Linked DNA regions of Homo sapiens: regions 1, 3 and 4 are each linked to region 2. The links are contacts of gene promoters, found by promoter capture Hi-C in blood cells and fetal thymus (Javierre and others, 2016). All regions are on one chromosome and are shown on one strand. The core of a region is centred on a gene start or on the middle of the fragment in contact, and the rest is flanking DNA. Distances in the headings are between cores, read along the strand shown.

Region 1 (3,387 bases), core at 17-2,516, 180 kb after region 2:
ATCTTCAGAGATGTTAAAGTTGGGGGGCAAGAGGGGTTGAAGTCAGAAATTCCGCTTGGGCTGGGATGTGGGTTAGCACCATGGACAGGGCCAAGGGCTGAGGGAGCCTGGGAGCGGCCTTGTGTGCAATGGGTAAAGCAGCACCAAGTCCCACTCACGTTTGCAGGCACCGCGGGGCCAGCAGACACCTGCCGGCGGCCAGCAGGCATCCGGAGGGCTAGGGGCCAGCTGCCTTTACCGAAAAGGCAGTGTAGGCCTCTGCCCAGGGTGCATAAGCACTGACAGTGGGGACAGAAGATCGACGTGGCTTGGCCTGTAGATCAGTAACTTGGGTAGAGTTCTCTACTCTCAGGATGAGCGAGGAGTTTTTGTGACTTCAGAATCTGCCATGCTGCTACCAGGGAGAACATTAATGTTCCCAGCTAATATTTACTGAGTGCTTGCTATGGGCCAGGCCCTCTGCTCAGCACTTTATACACACGATCTTAATTAATATAAACTTCATGTAACTCTATTCTAACATCCATTTTATAGATGAGGAACCAGATGGTGAGTGAGGCTAAGTCACACGTGCAAGGTCACTCAGGGATGACTCAAACTTGTGGTCTATGAACTGGGCTGCCTCCAAGGCAGGCTCTGGCCATGAGGAGAGATCAGTTCTGTGATTCTGGGTTGGTCCCTCTCCCCCTCTGCCCTTATTCCTCAGGGAGCTCAGTTGGGGCAGGTCTCTGTTCTCACTACTTCGATGGATAAGAGAATCCCATGGCATAACTTTTCCTTCCATAAAGAATAAGACTTCCTAAAAACTGGCTTCTTTCTGGCAAGGTCTGCTCTGCAAGCTTGCATCTGCCTTCTCTCAGCCCCTCCCTCGCCCCGCTGGTCCAGGTCCCTGCTGGGCCTCATCCCTCCATTCCAGGAGGTCACCTCGCCCCTCCCCTCCCACTTCCCACTGCCAAGGCCCTACTTGCTTCCAGCCTTCCCCACATTCTTTTCCACTTTCCAAGAGGTCCAAAGGAATCATCTCTTGGGAGGAAACCGTCAGAGTCCATTTGGAAGCCAGATAAAGAGGCAGACAGCGAGACAGACAGCAAGAGACAGACAAGAGACAGACTGAAAATGAAATTTGAAGCACTGTTGAGTCAATAATTATGGTCAAGTCCTGTTGAGAGATGAGTCCAGGGTAAGCTAGCCAGGGGTATCTCACAGGATTTCTAGGACTCACTTTTCCTTAGCTGGCTCCTGCTGCCCTCAGCCCTCCATCCTTGCCCCTCTCCCTCCCTGGGCTGCCTCCCAGACCAGCATCCTTCCCCCCACCCCACCCAGCCTCAGGGCATTCATCACTGGGTTAGTGATTTATCAAAGGCTCTGACAGTTGCTGTTTGGCAAAATCAATCTGTGAAGAATGGGACCAACCCAAGGCTCCCTGTTCTCCTGAGCCCCCACCATCAATCTGCCCCAAAGGAACTCCATGGCTCTGACATCGGCACTGCCCCTGCCCCCACCCCAGACTTGAGTGGGTCTCTGGATCCCTACCTGTCCTTAGAGAGAAGGGAAAGAAGGAAGGAAAGACAGAGAGAGAGAGAGAGAGCATATGTGTTTTGGTGCCTTCTCTTAGATGTTTATTTTGTTGTTTTTAAGTGAGAAAGTCCCAGCTCTATTAAATGCAATCAATACTTGGCCCAAGAGAAGCTTCCCTTCTCTGAGACATTTGAAACCTGGTCAAATCATTTTGCCCCAATACAAAGTAATTTATCAATTTCAAAACCTTTCTAATCAGTGGAGGCTGTGGAGTCCCCATTCCTGCCTGCCATCTTCTGCTGCAGGACAGGCACACACACATGCAAATACACACATACACCCAGAGTTGTGCATAAACTCCTTTATTCTCTCTGCAAACCACCCTCCCTCCCTCCCACCTCCCAGAGACTGCAGAATGTCTTCCCCTCAGTTCAGCCTCCAGGCTAGGTGCCATCCTCAGCATCTTCAGCTCAGCCTGTGTGCTCCTAGCCCAGAGAGGCTGCAGGCCCTGCGGGCCCTGCAGGCCTATAGCACTCAGCCCTGGAGAGATGGAGGTAGACACGAGTCCAGCCACAGTGCACTAGTGAGTGTGCTCCTCTTCACCTGGTGTGTAAACAGTGGGGTGGAGCTGGGGACTCTGGTTCATAGGCAGGGTCCAGAACTGGGGCCAGGGGGCTGGAAGGAGCCCCAGGGCCACCAAAGTTGTCCCTTAGGACCTTGGCATAAATCTCCGAGGGGCAAACAAGATCTACTGGCTGGAGTGAGGTTTGCTGGCTGAACCTGGGGATGATGTCACAAAACTCTCCTGCCTCTAAAGCTGCTATTTTTGCCCTCGAGGACAGGCCGTGTCTAAAGGGAGACTGTGACAGCAGCAAAATCACCTTGCAACTCACCCTCCCACTCCCAGGAAGAGTGGCTTGAGCCTTTACCACTCCATTAGATTGGATTCTCGGCAGGATTCTCGGCAGGTCTTTTGTGGCCGCCAGCTGTGGTGGCCAGATAGGCCACTGACCTTTGAGGAGGGGCCACCCACTGAATGGCTAATTTAAATGCTCTCCTTACAATGGACTGTGCACATTTGGCCCTCAGAGAGTGACTGAGGGAAGTGACTCAGCAAGCCAGAGTCCTGGTTCACAAGCGAACTCAGGAGCATAGATGACATGTGAACTTTCCGAAACCTCTACCCATGGAACAGTCAATCCAAAGGCCTTACCTTGGCGTTCAAGGCCCCTCCATCTGGCCTAACCTAATATCTCCAGGAGACCTTTCATGCCTAGTGTTTGGAAGGCACTCTGTAAATATGTGTGCAATCAATGAATGGGTGGAAATCTCTGTGTAGCTCTGCCCCCCATTTCATGCCTTCCTTTCTCAAGTCTATCATAGCTCCTCTAGGGCTAGGAGCAAGGACTTTGCATATCTTTGGAGCCCTCATAGCTCTTTGCCCAGGGCTCTGCACAAAGTAATATTAAACTAGAGCGAGCACAGTGCCCTGTGGTTTACAAGGTATTTTAATATTAACTGTCTAATTTAATTCTACAATAATGCTGGGGATAGATATTACCCTGTTTTATACTGAGAGGACCCAAGGTTCAGAGAGGTGAAGTCACTTGTCCTCCATTACACAGAAAGTAAACAATAAACCTGGGATGCCAATGCAAATTCTCTGAATCCAGATCCTAAAATCTTTCTACCTCATTCATTTGTTCATTTATTACATAAATAGTGAGCTTCCCCTCCATGCCAAATGTTAAGGTTTCTTCATGGCAATCTGAAACTAGGTGACATTGTATCCTGTCTGTAGATTGGAAAATAGAGGTGAAGTGATTTGCCCAAGATGGCACAGTAAATAAATAGGGGATGGAAGTAGAT
Region 2 (3,203 bases), core at 142-2,641:
GTGAAACCCCATCTCTACTAAAAATATAAAAATTGGCTGGGTACAGTGGCTCACACTGTAATCCCAGCACTTTGGGAGGCTGAGGCGGGCAGATCATGAGATCAGGAGATCAAGACCATCCTGGCTAACATGGTGAAACCCCGTCTCTACTAAAAATACAAAAAAAATTAGCCAGGCGTGATGGTGCATGCCTGAAATCCCAGCTACTTGGGAGGCTGAGGCAGCAGAATCGCTTGAACCCAGGAGGCGGAGGTTTCAGTGAGCCAAGATCGCGCCACTGCACTCCAGCCTGGGCGACAGAGCGAGACTCTGTCTCAAAAAAAATAAAATAAAATAAAAATTAGCAGGGTGTGGTGACGGGTGCCTGTAATCCCAGCTACTCGGGAGGCTGAGGCAGAGAACTGCTTGAACCTGGGAGGCGGAGGTTGCAGTGAGCTGAGATTGCCCCACTGCACTCCAGCCTGGGCGACAGAATGAGACTCCATCTCAAAAAACAACAAAAAAAAAAAAATAAAAAAAAAGGGTGACTAGGGGAGGAAATGAGTGGTAAAATGGCAGTATCTTACCTGTCGAGGTTAGGCACAGGAACCAGCAAAGTGGAGGAGGTAGTCTGAGGCCCATCTGGGCTGGTGGACTTAGGAGTCACCCTCCAGAGGCTAGGTCCCAGTGTACGGGGAAGAGCTGTACAGAACAACCAAAACTCAGGCACCTCAACAAGAACCCAGGAATCACTGTCATCTGCCTCAGCAGAGGTTCTTAAACATGGATACACATGGGAATCTTTTATCTACTACAGATTCTAGGGTAGTACCCCAGAACCAATAAACTAAGATTTCTCAGGGTAGAGCATCCACGTTTTTTAAAAGCGCCCATGTGATTCTGCTGGTCTCCTGTGGATGCCAACCACTGTTCTAAGATGACCAAACGTTCATACATATACTCTCACTAATGTTTGGGGCTCTTTGACTCTAAACCTCTCCTCTCTTCACTGGCTATGCCTACTCCATTGGCCCCTAATCCTCTTTCATTCATTCAGTCCACCATCTCCTGCCATTGGACTCCTCCCCCTCCCAACAGTCCTACCAACTTCTTGGACTCCACCCTCTTCTAGCTAGGCCCATCCACATCTCAAATTCCAGCAGCCCCTGACTTCCCCGCCCTCTTTCAAGCCCCGCCTTCCTTGGCTCTAACCCGGCCCACGATCGCTTCGGCTGTTTCCTCGGGCCCGCCCCCACTCCAGTTCGGTCTTTGCGGCCCAGAGTGACGCTGGTTGCTTGGACGTCCCTTACCTCGGCCCAGGAGTCCCGGGAGGCGCCACATGTCGCTGCCAGCACCACAGAGAGCTCGCAGCCGAAAGCGCGAGACCAACCCTTGGGACAGCGGCTAGAAAGGCCGCCGCGATGCCCCGAGTGGCCGAGTACCCGAGGAAGCTCTGAGCTGGCCAATTAGAAGGGAGCCCGGCCGGAAAGACGGCGCTGCAGAGAGGAAGTGCAGGGCGGAGGCGTATTCGGGGCCAGCGGGGCGGTGACGTGCGGCAAGGGCATGGGGATGTGGGCCCAGGCTTCCGTGGGGGATGTCCTTGGCGTTCCCAAGCCGAGGCAGGGGACCGCAGGTGGCGAAGCGAGCCACCCGGAAGCGGGACCTTCGGGAAGTGGGGCTGGAGCGGCTTCAGGGAAGTAAGAGGACCTTGCAGACCGTGAGGCCGCGAACCAGGAAAGGCTTCTCCAGGCCCTAGGCTTGAGGAAGTGGGAGTAACCAGGCTCCATGGGCGGAGGAGAGGACCCCCGGGGTCCCACAAATGAAGCCAGTAGGCCGGGCTTCCGTCCAAGGCCACCTGCCTGGAGATGCCAGGCCAGGGCCCGACTGCGTAGGCGATGAGAAACCGCACAGGGCAAGGCTTTGATTCTGGGTTCTAGCTCCGGTCCAGCTTTATCTCACTGTGCAGCTTCATGCCAACCCCTTACCTTGTCGGGGCCCCAATACGCGCCAGATAGGGTCAAATGGAATGACTGGCCTGACAAGCTGAGATTCTTGGGTAGCTCCTTTCAAAATACCTGAGACACCACCCGCGCCCTATTAGAACCCTCGTCTTCAGACGTGGCAAAAGTTATGTATGTGTTTGTTCTTTTGTGGAAAAGAATAGTTCCGTCTGGTCCCGGTGGCTCACGCCTGTAATCCCAGCACTCTGGGAGGCCGAGGCGGGCGGATCACCTGAGGTCAGGAGTTTGAGACCAGCCTGGCCAACATGGTGAAACCCTGTCTCTACTAAAAATACAAAAATCAGTTGCGCGTGGTGGTGGGCGCCTGTAATCCTAGCTACTCTGGAGGCTGAGGCAGGAGAATTGCTTGAACACGGGAGACGGGAGGTTGCAGTGAGCCGAGATCGCGCCTGGGCGACAGAGTGAGACTCCATCTCAAAAAAAAAAGGAAAAAAAAATAGTTCCTTTCACCACATTTGAATCCGTGAAATAACGGAGCTTACATTCAAGTATAAGATGTTTAGATTTCCTCCCTATCCCCTTCCTCCAGGTATGTGACTTTAAGGTGAGTGGAAGTTGCTACCTGGGGTAAAAGTGTACTGGGGGCACCTACTTTTAGACCGAGGCATGTGGCTTGAAAGTTGTATTAATATGTTAGACAACTTTTTTTTTTCTTTTGAGACGGATTCTCTGTCGCCCAGGCTGGAGTGCAATGGTGTGATCTCGGCTCACTGCAACCTCTGCCTCCCAGGTTCAAGCGATTCTCTTGCCTCAGCCTCCCAAGTAGCTGAGATTACAGGCGCCTGCTACCACATCCTGCTAATTTTTGTATTTTTAGTAGAGACAGGGTTTCACCATGTTGGCCAGGTTGGTCTCGAACTCCTGGACCTCAGGTGATCCTCCTGCCTTGGCCTTCCAAAGTGCTGGGATTACAGGCTTGAGCCACCGTGCCTGGCCGTTAAAGAACTTTTGAGCCATATATCAGCCCGTTCTAGGATCTGAGAAGACAGCTGAGGAAAGAGCATTTGTGGCCTCCAGGAACACGGTCCAGTGGATTAGTAGTGGGCTTTGGAGTCCCACAAATCTGGGTTGGAATCACAGCTTGCTTACTTCGTAGGTATGTTATCTTGTGCAGGTTCCTTAACCACACTAAGTCTCAAGAGCTTCATCCGTAAAATAGGGAAAATACCTCATGCAATTGTTGTGAGGTTTAAATAAAATAAT
Region 3 (3,176 bases), core at 348-2,847, 200 kb after region 2:
CAAAAAAAAAAGAAAGAAATTAGTTGGGTGTGATGGCACATTCCTGTAGTCCCAGCTACTCAGGAGGGTGAGGAGGGAGGAGAATTTGAGCACAGGAGGCAGAGATTGCAGTGAGCTAAGATCACACCACTGCACCCCAGCCTGGACAACAGAGTAAGACTTCACCTCAGAAAAAAAAAAAAAAAAAAAAAAAGAGGGACACAAAAGCAAAAGCCACAATACATAGAAAATGGGTGGTGAGAGGAGAAGAGGCAGACACAGAGAGAAGCTAAATTACTTGAGCTACCACCTCTTCCTCCAAAGGTCCTTCCTCTAAGCCACTCCGAGGTTCAAATAACCTAGTTCAGTTACAATGTGTATGGAAAGTTGTGTTATTGGTCAAAATATTTGCTGTTCCTCCCTTGGGTGCCCTTTCTGAAAGTGGAACATACTTCCCATTGATGAGAGGCCTGCCATGCGATTTGCTTTGGCCAATAAAATATGAGGGAAAGCTTTAAGAATCAGTGTGCTCCTCTATTGGCCTGGGCTCCAGAGTGAAGAAAGCAGGGGAGCAGAGCTGCAGCTGACCCATGACAGATATGTAATATAGGGGAGAAATAAACATTTGTCATAGGCCTCAGGGATTTGGGGACTGTTTGTTACTGCAACATAATGTAACCCACACTGACTGATACACAGCCTATATTTACAGCAGTTCCTGCTCATCTTGTAGCCTGATTATTCATCTTTTCCTGGATTTTCAGGCACATATTTCCTTACAGTCTTCCCTCACCTATTCCTTTTTTTTTTTTTTTTTTGAGATGGAGTCTCGCTCTGTCACCCAGGCTGGAGTGCAGTGGCGCAATGTCTGCTCACTGCAAGCTCTGCCGTCTGGGTTCACGCCATTCTCCTGCCTCAGCCTCCCGAGTAGCTGGGACTACAGGCGCCTGCCACCACACCCAGCTAATTTTTTTGTATTTTTAGTAGAGACGGGCTTTCACCGTGTTCTCCAGGATGGTCTCGATCTCCTGACCTTGTGATCCACCCACCTCGGCCTCCCAAAGTGCTGGGATTACAGGCCTGAGCCACTGCGCCCGGCCTTCCCTCACCTATTCTTATAACCAACAAGAAATAAGCCTTAAACAGTCTTCCTGATATGTAATATTATTCTGGAGAGCGCTATCCCTTAAGCCAGGAATTACAGGACTGATGTTTCATGATCAAGTATCCCTTTTTACCAAGTCCCTTTCCAACTCCTAATCTCCAAAACTTCCTGTAGCCTCAAGAGAATGTGGAATAAATAGATCTGATTATTATAAAACTGCACAATTGCATGATTTAAAGTAATTTTATTTTACTGAATTTCATGTTTATAAATTTTAAAGAATTTCTTTAAAACAAAATCAGAAATGGTTCATTTTACAGATGCTGACTTCTCAAACTTAAGAGAGTCATAGATTTGAGTACATACTGCACTAGTGATGATAATGATGATACAGACATAAATTTATGCAGAACTTTCATATTTCCAAAACATATCACACATTTGCTTGCTTTAAATTCACAACAGCCTGCAAATATTATTCCCATTTTACATATATGGAGACTGGGGATGAGAAAGTTAAAGGAACTCTTTACAAATTATGGAGGTGGTACTGTATCTCCCAGCACCTTGTTCTTCTGCTGCTTTTCCTCCACCTGCTACATCTGTCATAGCAGGCACTTATAGGAAAGGGGGGCACCTACCTCCATGACAGAAGCTGGGGAGGGGTAGTCAGAGACATCCCTGAGTTGAATAAATAAGTGAATACATGAATATATGACTAACTGAATGGATGCATGAATGGATGGGTGGACGATAGATAAATTGATGAGTGGATTGATGGGCAGATTAATGGATCTATGGGTGGGTGGATGATGAATGGGTGAATCTCTTTTGTTTGGATGAATGGGTAGATGGATGGATGGGATTCCTGTGGTCTCAGAGAAAAGGCAGTGGTGTTCTCTCAGTGTCTAGAAAGTGTGTACAGACACTTATAATACTCTACCAGCCAGAATTCCTTATGCTTAGCCATATCTTAACCCTGCCTGCCCAGGTATTTCAATCATCCTTCATCCTCAAGAAAATAGAATATCTTTCAGCCATAAGGTTGTCTATTTCTACTCTCCAACTTACTAGCCATGTTTACTGTACCTCTCCCTGCCTCAGTTTATTCACCCGTAAAATGGAGATGAAAATAACATCTCATTCATAGAGTTGGAATACATAATATATAGATAGATCATTTAGTAAAGTACCTAACATATCATAAATTCTCGATAAATAATAACTATCACCCTTAATATTCCCTAAAGTTCAGAATGGTTGCCTGTGAAAATCAAAGTGAGTCCCCACTCACTAAGCATGCCATATGGTCATTATGGTCTTTAGCCCTTTTTCATTAGTGGTGGAATCTGCAATCATACAATAACCTTTATTTTATTACACAGCCCTTGGAAATTGAGGGTTTCATCTGTGTCAATTAATTCCTTCGCAGCCCACATTGGCAGTGACAATCAGAATGTCAAAATGTCTCAGAGGATTTCTAGGAAATCTGTGGCACTTCACGAAGAGGCTGCCCCGGGTGAGAGACCAGCCAGAGTGAATCGTTAATACACTTCCCAGGAAGGGGGATTCTTCTGAAATGCTAATACAATCAACTGCAAGGCAAACTTCAAGCTTCTTTTTCAGTGATCAGAGAGGCCCTCCCAGAGCAAGGATGCTCTCCACTGTGCAAGCTAAAGGCCCTACTTTCTCACCCAGCCTTTTCTGGGGAGGAGAAACACATCCTCACCACATTGCAGCTGCCCTGCGAGGGCTGCAGGTATTGTGTGTCCCCACCAGCCAGGGCAGTTCCCAGACAGACTCTGGCTGCCTGGACCCAGGTCTGCTCCAAGGAAGCAGCACGTTTCTGGAGGAGGCTTAGCCAAGAAACCATTACGGAGTGAGAGAGGAGTTATCTGGATAAATGCGGAACTGCCCAACTCCTAGCATTTGTTCCTGGGACCCAGGCTGTAACATCCTCTGGAGCCAAACTGCCTCTGTTCAAACCCTTGTCCCCGCACTCCACCTCCTAGCTGTGTGGCACTGTGTGCATTACTTAACTTTGCATGCCTTACTTTTTCCATTTGTAAAATGCATATAATAATAAATCCTA
Region 4 (3,486 bases), core at 282-2,781, 250 kb after region 2:
GGACGCCTATAATCCCAGCTAGTTAGGAGGCTGAGGAAGGAGAATTGCTTGAACCGGAGAGGTGGAGGTAGCAGTGACTAAGAAAAAAAAAAAGAGGGCTTGGGGGCAAAATGGGTGGACTGCAATTTTTCATTTACAGTTAGCGGAGCGTTAAGAAGATGACATTTGATCAAAAACTTGAAGGAGGTGAAGGAGTTAGCCATGAAGATAACTGGGGAAGAGTGCCCCGGTAGGGCAAGTGATTGGAACAGAGGCCTCAAGGCGGGTGTGTGCCCAAAGGGATCCAGGAGCAGTGAGGAGGCCAGGCCATCTTGGCTGGGGCAGGTGAGCCACGGTGGGAGGAATGGCAGGAGATGAAGTCAGAGAGGTAAAAGAGGCCAGATAAGGGTCAGGCACAGTGGCTCATGCCTGTAATCCCAGCACTTTGGGAGGCCAAGGTTGGCGGACCACCTGAGTTCAGGAGTTTGAGAGCAGCCTAGTCAACATGGTGAAACCTCGTGTCTACTAAAAATACAAAAAAAATATAGCCGGGCGTGGTGGTGGGCGCCTGTAGTCCCAGCTACTCAGGAGGCTGAGGCAGAGAATGGCGTGAACCCGGGAGGCGGAGCTTGCAGTGAGCAAAGGTTGTGCCGCTGCACTCCAGCCTGGGCAACAAAGCAGGACTCCGTCTCAAAAAAAAAAAAAAATAGCTGGGGGTGGTGGCGCACACCTGTAGTCCCAGCTACTAGGGAGGCTGAGGCAGGAGAATCACTTGAACCCGGGAGGCGGAGGTTGCAGCAAGTCAAGATCATGCCACTGCCCTCCATCCTGGACAACCGAGTGAGACCCTGTCTCAAAACAAAAACAAAAACAAAAAAAACAAAAACAAAAAACAAAACAAAACCAAAAAAACAAAAACAAGGGGCCAGATAAGGGACTTTGGCTTTTACTCTAAGTGAAATGGGAAGCCATTGAGGGGTTTTGACTTTATAAAGGGATCCCCCTGGTTGCTATGTTGGGAGTGGTCTGTAGGGGGCCAAAGGAGAAGCAGAGAGACCAGTGGGGAGGTTTTTGTAGTAATGTAGGTGAGAGACCTCAGAGTGTAGTGATAGTAGTGGAGATGATGAGAAGTGGCTTTATTTTGAAGGCAAACTGTCAGATTAACTTGGGATGTGAGAAAAAAAGAGCAGTCAAGAATGACTTTGAGGGCTTCCATCTGAGCTGGTGCTGACCAGTATGGTAGCCATTAGCCACATGTGACTACTGGGCCTATGAAATGCGGCTAGTATCCTTTGAGATGCACAATAAATGTAAAACACCTGCTAGATTTCAAAGACTTAATATGAGAAAAAGCAATACTGGATGAATATAACAAATATAAACATAAATTATCTTATGTTTATATTTTTATGTTGATTACAGAATTTTTATGTAGTAAAAAATAGTAATTTTTATGTTGATTACATACTAAAATGTTAATGTTTAGGATATATTGGGTTAAATAAAATATATTATTAAAATTAATTTCACCTGTTTCTTTTAATTTTTTTAAACGTGGCTACTGAAAAGTTTAAAATTACATACTTGGTTCGCATTAACTTCTGCTGGATAGCACTGTCCTGAGCACCTGAAAGTTCCTGGAGCCGCCACGGTCTGAGATGGGGAAGACTGTGTTCAGGCAGCTGGGAGGAGAGGGTAGATTAGGAGTGCAGTTCTGGATGTGTTGAATTTGAGGTGTAAGTTATGCCTCCAAGAAGAGGTGAAAATAGACCACTGGGTAGACGAGCTTAGAGTCTAGAGAGAGGTCGGAGCTGGAGACCTAAACTTGAGAGTTGTCAGCACTTAGATGGGTGCATAGAGCTGTGAGTGAGTGCAGATAGAGAAGAGGACCAAGATCAAAGCCCTTGTGCACTCCCATATCTAGAGGTTTGGGAGAAGCGGAAGAATCTGCAAAACGGACAGAAGAGAAATAGCAAAGTAGAAGGCCAGGAGAATGTGATGTCATAGGAGCAAAGTGAGGAAAATGTAGAAGAAGAAGGGAGAGGCCAGCTGTGTCCTACGCTGCTGAGGGGTCTGCTGCTGAGTATGATAGGACTTAGAATTCACCCTTGGAATTGGAGGTCACTGGGGATCTTGACAAGTACAGTCTCAGAGTGATGGGGTGAAAGCTCGATGAGAGTGGGTTTTAAGGGAGAATAGAAAAGTACAGACAGTGTCTTTTGAGGAATTTTTCTGCAAAGAAGAGCAGAGAGTTGGAACTATTGTTGCTAGAGGAAGCTGAGTCAAGAAAAGAGTTTTTTTGTTGTTTTTGAGACGGAGTCTTGCTCTGTCACCCAAGCTGGAGTGCAGTGGTGTGATCTCGGCTCATTGCAACCTCTGCCTCCTGGGTTCAAGTGATTCTCCTGCCTCAGCCTCCCAAGTAGCTGGGACCACAGGTGCGCTTCACCACACCCAGCTAATTTTTGTACTTTTAGTAGAGACGGGGTTTCACCATGTTGGCCAGGATGGTCTCGACCTCTTGACCTCGTGATCCGCCTGCCAAAGTGCTGGGATTACAGGCGTGAGCCACCGTACCTGTCCAACAAGAGTTTTTTATTGGATGCAATGTTATATAGGTTTGTAGGTGAATAGGAATGATCTGGTAGGGAGGGACAGTTATGTAGGGGAGAGGAGAGTGAGGGATGTCTAAGTGATTGTGTAGGTGAGAGGAATAGGATTAAGGGCACAGAGGAGGGTCTGGCTTTAGACACGAGTGTTTATTATAGTCACAGGAGGAAGGCAGAATATGTGCGTGAAATTGGGTAAACATGGCACTGGGAGTCTGTGGGGGTTCTTATCTGATTACTTCAATTTCTCAGTGAAGTAGGAAACAGAGGCTGCAGTAGCAGTTTTCAACATTAGCTGTATCATAGGCTGGGGAAATTTTTTTTTTTTTGTGACAGAGTCTCGCTCTGTTGCCCAGGCTGGAGTACAGTGGCTCGATCTCTGCTCACTGCAACCTCCGCCTCCCAGGTTCAAGCAATTATCTTGCCTCAGCCTCCCGAGTAGCTGGAATTACAGGCGCCCGCCAGCACACCTGGCTAATTTTTTTTTGTATTTTTAGTAGAGACGGGGTTTCACCATATTGCCCAGGCTGGTCTTGAACTCCTGACCTTGTGATCTGCCTGACTCGGCCTCCCAAAGTGCTGGGATTACAGGTATAAGCCACCACGCCCAGCCTTTTTTATTTTTTATTTTATTTTTTTTAGGCTGGGGAATTTTTAAAACTATGAGTGCCTGGGCCCTCTCCCAGAGATTCACATTTAAGTGTCTGGTGTGGAGCCCATGTACTGATATTTTTTAATGTTTCCCAAGTGATTTTGTGCTGTTGAGGTTGAGAACCCCTGGAAAGTGACAGAGAATAATAGAGGAATCTACTCAGGTTAGTTAAGGGAGGCCTCTCTGAGAAGATGACATAAGCAAAGACCTGAAGGATGAGAAAAAGCAGCCCAGGGAAGCATGGAAGGC

Evidence for each region. The method cuts DNA at HindIII sites, captures the fragments that hold promoters and counts their contacts. A CHiCAGO score of 5 or more calls a contact.
Region 1: a fragment that was not itself captured here is called in contact with the fragment with the promoter of DELE1 in region 2 in 1 of 17 cell types (endothelial precursors); the score reaches 6.5 in endothelial precursors.
Region 3: a fragment that was not itself captured here is called in contact with the fragment with the promoter of DELE1 in region 2 in 1 of 17 cell types (endothelial precursors); the score reaches 6.5 in endothelial precursors.
Region 4: a fragment that was not itself captured here is called in contact with the fragment with the promoter of DELE1 in region 2 in 8 of 17 cell types (erythroblasts, naive CD4 T cells, total CD8 T cells and 5 more); the score reaches 6.8 in erythroblasts.

The regions. Positions count from the first base shown.
Region 1 is chr5:141,740,270-141,743,656 of GRCh38, reverse strand. No RefSeq gene overlaps it. Among named protein-coding and RNA genes, the nearest start is that of ARAP3, 60 kb to the right of the region's middle. RefSeq lists a silencer at 1-255. The HindIII fragment of the contact is 850 bases long and covers 842-1,691 here.
Region 2 is chr5:141,922,059-141,925,261 of GRCh38, reverse strand. DELE1 (DAP3 binding cell death enhancer 1) reads right to left here and starts at 1,391. Exons shown (of 12, transcript NM_014773.5): 1 at 1,290-1,391; 2 at 567-681. The coding sequence starts at 1,320. RefSeq lists an enhancer at 997-1,510. The HindIII fragment of the contact is 14,517 bases long and covers 1-3,203 here.
Region 3 is chr5:141,718,644-141,721,819 of GRCh38, reverse strand. LOC124901092 (a long non-coding RNA gene) reads left to right here and starts at 1,012. Exons shown (of 2, transcript XR_007058973.1): 1 at 1,012-3,176. The HindIII fragment of the contact is 2,207 bases long and covers 494-2,700 here.
Region 4 is chr5:141,675,151-141,678,636 of GRCh38, reverse strand. The region is part of intron 4 of ARAP3 (ArfGAP with RhoGAP domain, ankyrin repeat and PH domain 3); the gene reads left to right. Among named protein-coding and RNA genes, the nearest start is that of ARAP3, 5.3 kb to the left of the region's middle. RefSeq lists an enhancer at 3,109-3,486. The HindIII fragment of the contact is 9,046 bases long and covers 1-3,486 here.